3 separate regions of the Homo sapiens genome follow, and all the other regions are linked to region 3. Evidence: promoter capture Hi-C in 16 types of primary human blood cells and fetal thymus (Javierre and others, 2016). All regions are on one chromosome and are shown on one strand. Each heading gives the region's core, a stretch centred on a gene start or on the middle of the fragment in contact. The rest is flanking DNA. Distances are from core to core; before and after follow the strand shown.

Region 1 (2,700 bases), core at 70-2,569, 290 kb before region 3:
CAATTAGAAGAAAATAATGTCTTCTAAATATAAACATAACATATGTTCATTATTTTTCATATATAAAATAATTTCTAAAAGCCATAGAACAAAATTTAAAATACCTAAAGCCTTTCATCCAGAGGGAAACACAGTTAACATTTCAGTATGTGCCATATTTTTTCTATAAACCTGTTTCCAGAATCTTAATCACACCATTTATCCCATGGTTTGAATATTTTTATGTTGTTAAATATTCATCTACAACATCTTTTTTTTTTTTTTTTTTTGAGATGGAGTCTCGCTCTGTCGCCCAGGCTGGAGTGCAGTGGCGCGATCTCGGCTCACCAAGCTCCGCCTCCCGGGTTCACACCATTCTCCTGCCTCAGCCTCCCGAGTAGCTGGGACTACAGGCGCCTGCCACCTCTCTTGGCTAATTTTCTGTATTTTTAGTAGAGACGGGGTTTTACTGTGTTAGCCAGGATGGTCTCGATCTCCTGACCTCGTGATCCACCCGCCTCGGCCTCCCAAATACAACATCATTTTTAGCAGTTGCTAATCTAATCCAACCTAGGTTGGTCTTGCATATTTCATCCCTTCTCAGTGATTTCTCTTTGTGGTGGATCTAGCAGGTCAGCAGACAAGGGGTCTTTCATTAATGCCAGTGAGCGTCCATCTGAGGACAAGATGTTGGAGGATGAAGGAGACAGGGGAGCCATACAATATTTCTAGCCGTAGCTAAGCCCTGATTATGTTTAAAGCAACAATAAAAACAAGTACGTAGCACTAGTTTAGGCTGCTTCTGACTCAGTGTTACAACATGGTGCCAAGGCTGACCTCATTCAACAGCCTCACAAGGGCTGCCCACGCACATTATGCAGTCAGCAGGGGCCTGCCTGTGGGGACCACAGGCCCTGAGCCATGGAGGCCACCACCGAAACTATCCCAGGGGCCATAATGTGATGTTTTCCCATCCCCACATGTTACGGGAAACTAACAAGCCCATCCCTTGTCAAGAGACACACGTGCACCTTTTTTTTCGCATGTAACAGAAGGTTTTTTGTGACTGAAGGATCTACCTTTGGAAAACTCCCAAGGAGATGGATACATTTATCAGACACGAGCGAAGGTTTGCATTTTAAAACTTAGAAATGGAGAATCTTTTGAAGCAACGCCTATTCCTTCTTCATGACCACGTTAATGCCAGAGTTAGATTGGCAGTTCTAGGATCTGAATCAGCCATCTCCAAAGAAAGGTTCATTCTCAAGATTTCCTAAGCTGCCCCCCAGGAGTGGTTCCGGCGATGCCAAGTGCAAATTCTACAGCAGGAATTCATTGACACATCCCCGCGATGACCCTATTTAAACAATTCACCCCACATGCTGGTTCGATATTCAAGCCTATGTAAATAAGTGAAAATAAACAGAAATCATCAGTGATCAATAGAATGAGGTTCATAAGATTTTAAAAAGTTTTAATATCATGAGGTCAGGAGAGCGAGACCATCCTGGCTAACACAGTGAAACCCCGCCTCTACTAAAAATACAAAAAATTAGCCAGGCGTGGTGGCGGGCGCCTGTAGTCCCAGCTACTCGGGAGGCTGAGGCAGGAGAATGGCGTGAACCCGGGAGGCGGAGCTTGTAGTGAGCCGAGATCGCGCCACTGCACTCCAGCCTGGGCGACAGAGCGAGACTCCGTCTCAAAAAAAAAAAAAAAAAAAAAAAAAGTTTTAATACGGGAAAGTTGATTTTATATCACCATCATCAAAAAATATTCAAATAATGATATTAACATCTGTAATATGAACCAACGGTAGCTGAAAACAGAAAAGAATGGTGAAAACAGTTATGTATACTGGAGTTTTTAAAATTACATCACTATTTTCTGTAAAATGAATGTGCTCCCTGGAACTAATGAGATTTGTGTCTTATGTTTGTAACCAGCAGAGATCGCGGACAGTGATGAAAGACTGGACGGCATTGCTCTACCACCAACAGGTAAATAAAACGCATTTACATTTTCATCACCTCCTGGAAAATACAGCCCACAAAACTATTTGCATTGAAAACGATTTTAACATTAGACATGCAGACACTTGAGCAAACTGCTTCTGCAGTGGACCAGGCCCCGTCATTGGAGCTTCTCAAGGCCCCGTACTCAGAGATGTTTTTCATACTGAATAGAAAAACGTTTTTCTCACACTCTTATTTTCATAAAAATCTCAGAAGAGCAAATCCTAAGAACTAAGTATCATAACATTTTGCCTCCCCAAACCTTTGGACATTACAAAATATTTTTAACGTGAAATGAGATTTCACCTTAAAACGGGGACCACTAATTTTGTGTGATCAAATTCATGGCTAGGCTGTCCTCTCCCACCTCCTCCAAACGGCCTTGGAGCCTTGAGCAGTCAATCAGTGGACACCCAGTGAATACTATGTTTTAACTGAGCGATTTGAACAAGGCCAGCCATCCGGCGTGAGTGGCACATTCCTAATACCAGGACCAGATCAGCTGAAGATACCCTTCCATGGAAGCATTTGCTGCACGCTGTTGTGTTAAGCCATAGACATAATTCCAACTTCATGTTATTTGACTCTCAAGTAATGCTTCTGACCCTGGCTTCCTACCTGTGTATGGGTTCATATCTGAGAGCCAGAGGGGCAGGTGTCTGATCAATGAGCCTTGTGGAAAACAATGTATCCCCTCCATTGGTCACAG
Region 2 (2,700 bases), core at 12-2,511, 430 kb before region 3:
ACTGGCTCTTGACAATTATAATTTAAGTATGCTCAAGACTCTGCCCTGGGTATCATTTACAGCAGAACCACATTAAACTGTTTAATCTAATCCGTGTCCACTTCCTTACCCCCAATTCTCTTTGCAGCCCCACAGCATGTGGACATCCATTCTGTTTCACTGAAAAAACCTCCTTGGGGTCATAAATAATGTCTAAGATACAAATCCAAAGAGACTTCTCTGACTGATCTCATCCAGTCTTCGATTTAACTGCTCATTCCTTCCTTCCTTCAGTAACTTTCTCCTCTTAGCTGACAGATTCTTCTTATGTCTTCCTCACTTACTGGTTTGCTTAGATTTTCTATTTCTTGTATTTTTTTGTACTTTTTAGCCATTTACTTCACTTAGATTTTCCAATGTATTAGAACTAGTATACAGTTTTCCTTACTAATTTTATTTTCCAATGTCTCCCATGTTGGTTCCTGCCATTCCTTCCATTGGTCCTTCATTTCAGAATGTTTTGTATAATGTGGGGTAGGGGTTGTTGCTTATTATTTCCGTATGGATATCCAGTTGTTCAGCATCATTTACTGAAAATATCTTTCCTTCCATTTGGTTTTAGTGTATTTGTCAAAAATCAATAATTGTGTAAGGGTGGCTCCGTTCTGGGTGCTCTGTTATACTCTAGTGGTGTTAGCTGTTGCTCTTTATGCCAGCGCTATGCTGTTTTGATTATTGTAGCATTGTTACTGCAGCACAGCATAGTATCTTGCATATAGGAAAGATGCAGTAAATACTGGAAGGAAAAAAAGCTAAAATTCTGCACATAGCTCATCCTCATAACTACAACTAGTAAAACTACTAATTACTCCCCATTGAGTTTCTAGAGCAGCCTGGTTTTCCACACGAGGTTTTGCATTAAATGAAAACTCACCAATTCTAGGCTCCAAAACACTGGTGTTCTAGCAATGCAGACACATTTACCTCAGGGTGGTTACACCAGGCAGGGCACTTTAGGACAGGTGGTAAGAGGATATCTTAGTCACTTCTCTGCAATTTGAGAAAGAGGCACTCACAAGCTAAGTACTGATTATTTCAACTATCACAGATTAACCACAAAAAGCTGGGACACCACTTGAAATGACCAAAGATGAGGTGGCTCTTCTTTCTGCAAGAGCAACACCACACAGACAACTGTTTTCCAGCTACAGATGCGGTAATGACAACAATCTACTGATCCCTGACCCGTGTTTTCTAAAAAATTAAAACAAAGGGACTTGCTCTTCCCCATCTTGTAAGATGGTGGGTGAAAAAGTTGAGAAGCCGGATACTAAAGAGAAGAAACCCAAAGCCAAGAAGGCTGAGGCTGGTGACAAGGTGAAAAAGGGTCACCTCAAGGCTAAGAAGCCCAAGAAGGGGAAGCCCCATTGCAGCACAACCCTGTCCTTGTCAGAGGAATTGGCAGGTATTCCCGATGTGCTATGTATTCCAGAAAAGCTGTGTATAAGAGGAAGTACTCAGCCGCTAAGTACGAGGTTGAAAAGAAAAAGAAGGTTCTTGCAACTGTTACAAAACCAGTTGGTGGTGACAAGAATGGTAGTACCCAGGTGGTTAAACTTCATAAAATGCCTAGATATTTTCCTACTGAAGATGTGCCTCAAAAGCTGTTGAGCCATGGCAAAAAAAAAAAAAAACCCTCAGTTGACACGTGAGAAAACTGCGAACCAGCATTACCCCGGGGAACGTTCTGATCATCCTCACTGGATTCCACAGAGGCAAGAGGGCGGTCTTCCTGAAGCACCTGGCTAGTGGCTTGTTACTTGTGACTGGACCTCTGGTCCTCAATCGAGTTCCTCTATGAAGAAAACACCAGAAATCTGTCATTGCCACCTCAACCAAAATTGTTATCAGCGATGTAAAAATCCCAAAACATCCCACTGATGCTTATTCAAGCAGCAGCAGCTGCAGAAGCCCAGACACCAGGAAGCTGAGATCTTCAGCACAGAAAAAGATAAATACAAGATTACAGAGCAGCACAAGATTGATCAGAAAGCTGTGGAGTCACAAATTTTACCAAAAATCAAAGCTATTCCTAAGCTCCAGGACTACCTGCGATCTGTGTTTGCCCCGACTCATGGAATTTATCCTCACAAATTGGTGTTCTACATTTCTTAAGAAGAACCTAATTAAATAACTGATAACAAAAAAGGAGGACTGAATAAAACATGATAAAATCATTTGTGGTTGTAAGAATTATTTCATAAAACTTTTTTCACATACATATCAGATCAATATATAAAAATGTATTGCTATGAACGGGGCAGTGAAAAAGTCTGTAAGTTACTGACAGACACTGTGATGCAGAAAGATGAAAAATATAAAGCAACTATTCTGCATGAAATGATAGAGCTGCAGATCTAAAGACTGTCTTCCCATGGATACAACAGAAAAGACGCCTAGTTGTGTATGTTCCCTTACATCATGCAAGAGCACTCACCCTCAAGTTGGTCTAAGACTTGAGATCTATCCCGGCTGGCCACAGGAATATGAGAACATCGTGTAACCCTCTAAGCCTCAATTTCATCATCCATGAAAACAGCATTGCCTTGTGCACTAATTAACCGTTGTAAAGCTCAAATCAGATAGCATATAGCACTTTGAAAAATATAAATCATGTTAGTCTAATAATTTTCCAGTGCTTTGTTACATTAGCCCTATCAA
Region 3 (2,700 bases), core at 136-2,635:
CACGCCCGGCTAATTTTTTGTATTTTTAGTAGAGATGGGGTTTCACCGTATTAGCCAGGATGGTCTCGATCTCCTGACCTGGTGATCCGTCCGCCTTGGCCTCCCAAAGCGCTGGGATTACAGGCGTGAGCCACCGCGCCTGGCCGCTTTTTAAAAATTCATTCAACCAACATTTCCACGGATCCCTCATGTGCCACACACTGTGCTATCTACTGGGGAACCTATTGGACAGTAAGCTTCCTGAGCGTTAGGAGCAAACTGTCTCGTTCAAGTCTGTAACCGGCCTTGCCTTCCCCCAAAATGAAACTGTGCACCCTCCCTCGCCCTCAAATCCACGGCCACTGACAAGTACTGTGGTCCCATCTCCAAAACACTGCTCAAATCTGCCACTTCTCTCCAACTTCACTGCCAGAACCCTAGGCCAAGCCACCGTCAACCTTTAACCCAATGACTGTGTTAGCTTTCTATGTTGGTCTCTTTGTCCCCGTGCAATCTGTTCTGCATACGACAGCCACGGTAATCTTCCCTTTCCTTAGTAACCTTTAGGAACATAAATCAGATCATGGGGGTCCCTTCATTGAAATTCTTTAATGATTTTCCATTGCCCTTAGAAAAAATCTACAAAGCCTGCGAGGCAATGATTCATATTCTCTCTCTCTTTCCAAGCTTTCTACTCCCTCACATTTTCCACAATCCACCACGTCCAATTCTACCCACCCCGACACCCATAACGATGCTCCAGCCGGGCCAGCCCGCTTCCACCTTCTGGAACACACTAAGCTGCTTTGAGGTCTCAGGCTCTGTCGAAGAAAGCTCCCCCCAGGTCCTTCTCGCCCTTCGGTCTCCACTTACTCATCTTTCTGAGACTTTCTGGACCACCCTGAGTCGTCCACTGTCGTGCATTTGTTTACTACCTGCTCGTGCCTTTAAACTGTAAGCGCTGTGAAGGCAGCGGAAATGTGATCCGAGCCATGCACACCGTCCGCATTCAATAATCATTGGCAAATCATGAATACGAGAAACCAATGAATGAATGAATGAATGAATGAATAAAAGAAAGCCCAGGCGGCAGGCACTTGGCAAGCACTTAAAAGGCTGCGTTTAAAAGGAAGAACCCGATTCCTTAGTAGACGGCCAGCAACTCCCAGCCCCCGGCCCGGCCATGCCAGCTCCGAGCGGTCCCAAGCTGCCGCCAAATCCAGATCGCGCCCACCCGAGCTCCCGGGACCCCGCGCCTCTAGCCTCGGACCCCTTGCAACCCGCGCAGAGACGTGCGAGGCGGCCCCGGCCCCGCCGCCCGAGGGTCACACGCACGCCCGGGGCCCGCGCTCCTCACCCGATGCCGGGACGCCTTCTTCGTTCACAGCTGAACCCGCCAAAATTCCAACCGGATCCCGCCCCTGCCTTGACGTCAGACGCACGCGGCTGTGGGGCAGCACTGACTGGCTACGCCAGCGAATCCCGGCCCTGGCACAGAGCAATCGGATTGGTTTACGTCATTGGACGCCCTCTTTGTTGGGGGCAAGGGACCTTCCTGTCGGTAGAAGCCAGTCTCCTTTAGGTAAAATAGAGTGTCTGGCGCCCCCTGGTGCCGGGAAGTTTAAGTCATCCCACCCAGTATTTTCCCTGCGGTCCCATCCCACCTCAACTCCTGACGCTCTGGGACCGACTGTTCCTTTGTCAGCCTTATGTCCATTCGAAATGTTTGGGCTCAGGACCAAACAGATCCGGTCCACTTTTACCCTGTCTGACCTTGGGGAAGTGACTTATCTCTCTGAGTTTCCCCTTCACCATCTGTGCAGTGAGGGAAAGGGTAGATGACATCTTTTACACTGAAACCACCATTTCCCGAGTAATTCCTGTTCCATAGATTTTGGGACTTCTAAGGGGCGTCAGGGCTGAAGAGAACTTATCAGCAGACCATATCTTTCACAGATTTTTTTTTCAGTAAAATTCAGGCCTCTTTATGTATTTACATTCTAAAAAATAGTGTTTGTACATAATACTAAGAACATAGTTTCTAAATGCAGAATAACATTTAGCTTTTACATAATTTCAAGGGATTGATAGCAGAAGAGACTTTGATGGACCAAATGGCCACTTTAAGTCTTTCCCCCCTTTTCCTCCTTGCAGACACTGTTCAGGCACTGCAGTTCCCCCACTAATAATCCCTTTGGTATAAGATCCTATCTCTATCCACTACGTACTTTCATTTTCAGAACAATTAAAATCGACTTTAGGAAGACTGAAGATAAACAGTCCTGATGCCATCTACGTTGACTTTTTTCTGTGTCCTAATGGAATATTACTGCTCCATTTATGAGCTCAGCCCTATTACTTAAACCTATATTGGCTCAGGAATAGGAATACAACCATTTCTGAGAGCTGCTAGTGTTAAAAATTCATAGTAATGGAGGAACTCTAGTAATCAAATTGAAAAAGTATGTTTAAATGCGTACTTTTAAACATACGGCACTAAGGCCGGGCACGGTGGCTCACCCCTGTAATCCCAGCACTTTGGGAGGCCGAGGTGGGTGGATCACGAGGTTAGGAGTTCGAGACCAGCCTGGCCAACATGGTGAAACCCCATCTCTACTAAAAACACACACAACACAAAAATTAGCTGGGCGTAGTGGTGCGCGTCTGTAATCCCAGCTACTTGGGAGGCTGAGGCGGAGAATCGCTTGAACCTGGGAGGTG

Evidence for each region. The method cuts DNA at HindIII sites, captures the fragments that hold promoters and counts their contacts. A CHiCAGO score of 5 or more calls a contact.
Region 1: a fragment that was not itself captured here is called in contact with the fragment with the promoter of MCM10 in region 3 in 1 of 17 cell types (naive CD8 T cells); the score reaches 5.0 in naive CD8 T cells.
Region 2: a contact is called between a fragment that was not itself captured here and the fragment with the promoter of MCM10 in region 3, in 1 of 17 cell types (fetal thymus). The highest score is 5.5, in fetal thymus.

What each region holds. Positions count from the first base shown.
Region 1 is chr10:13,446,542-13,449,241 of GRCh38, reverse strand. BEND7 (BEN domain containing 7) reads left to right here. Exons shown (of 9, transcript NM_001369863.1): 8 at 1,926-1,976. Among named protein-coding and RNA genes, the nearest start is that of BEND7-DT, 81 kb to the left of the region's middle. The HindIII fragment of the contact is 9,385 bases long and covers 1-2,700 here.
Region 2 is chr10:13,590,902-13,593,601 of GRCh38, reverse strand. The region is part of intron 1 of PRPF18 (pre-mRNA processing factor 18); the gene reads right to left. It also overlaps the pseudogene RPL6P24. Among named protein-coding and RNA genes, the nearest start is that of PRPF18, 5.3 kb to the right of the region's middle. The HindIII fragment of the contact is 4,940 bases long and covers 1-2,700 here.
Region 3 is chr10:13,160,243-13,162,942 of GRCh38, reverse strand. It overlaps MCM10 (minichromosome maintenance 10 replication initiation factor), which reads right to left and starts at 1,385. Exons shown (of 20, transcript NM_018518.5): 1 at 1,337-1,385. RefSeq lists silencers at 1,121-1,300, 1,323-1,636. The HindIII fragment of the contact is 4,789 bases long and covers 669-2,700 here.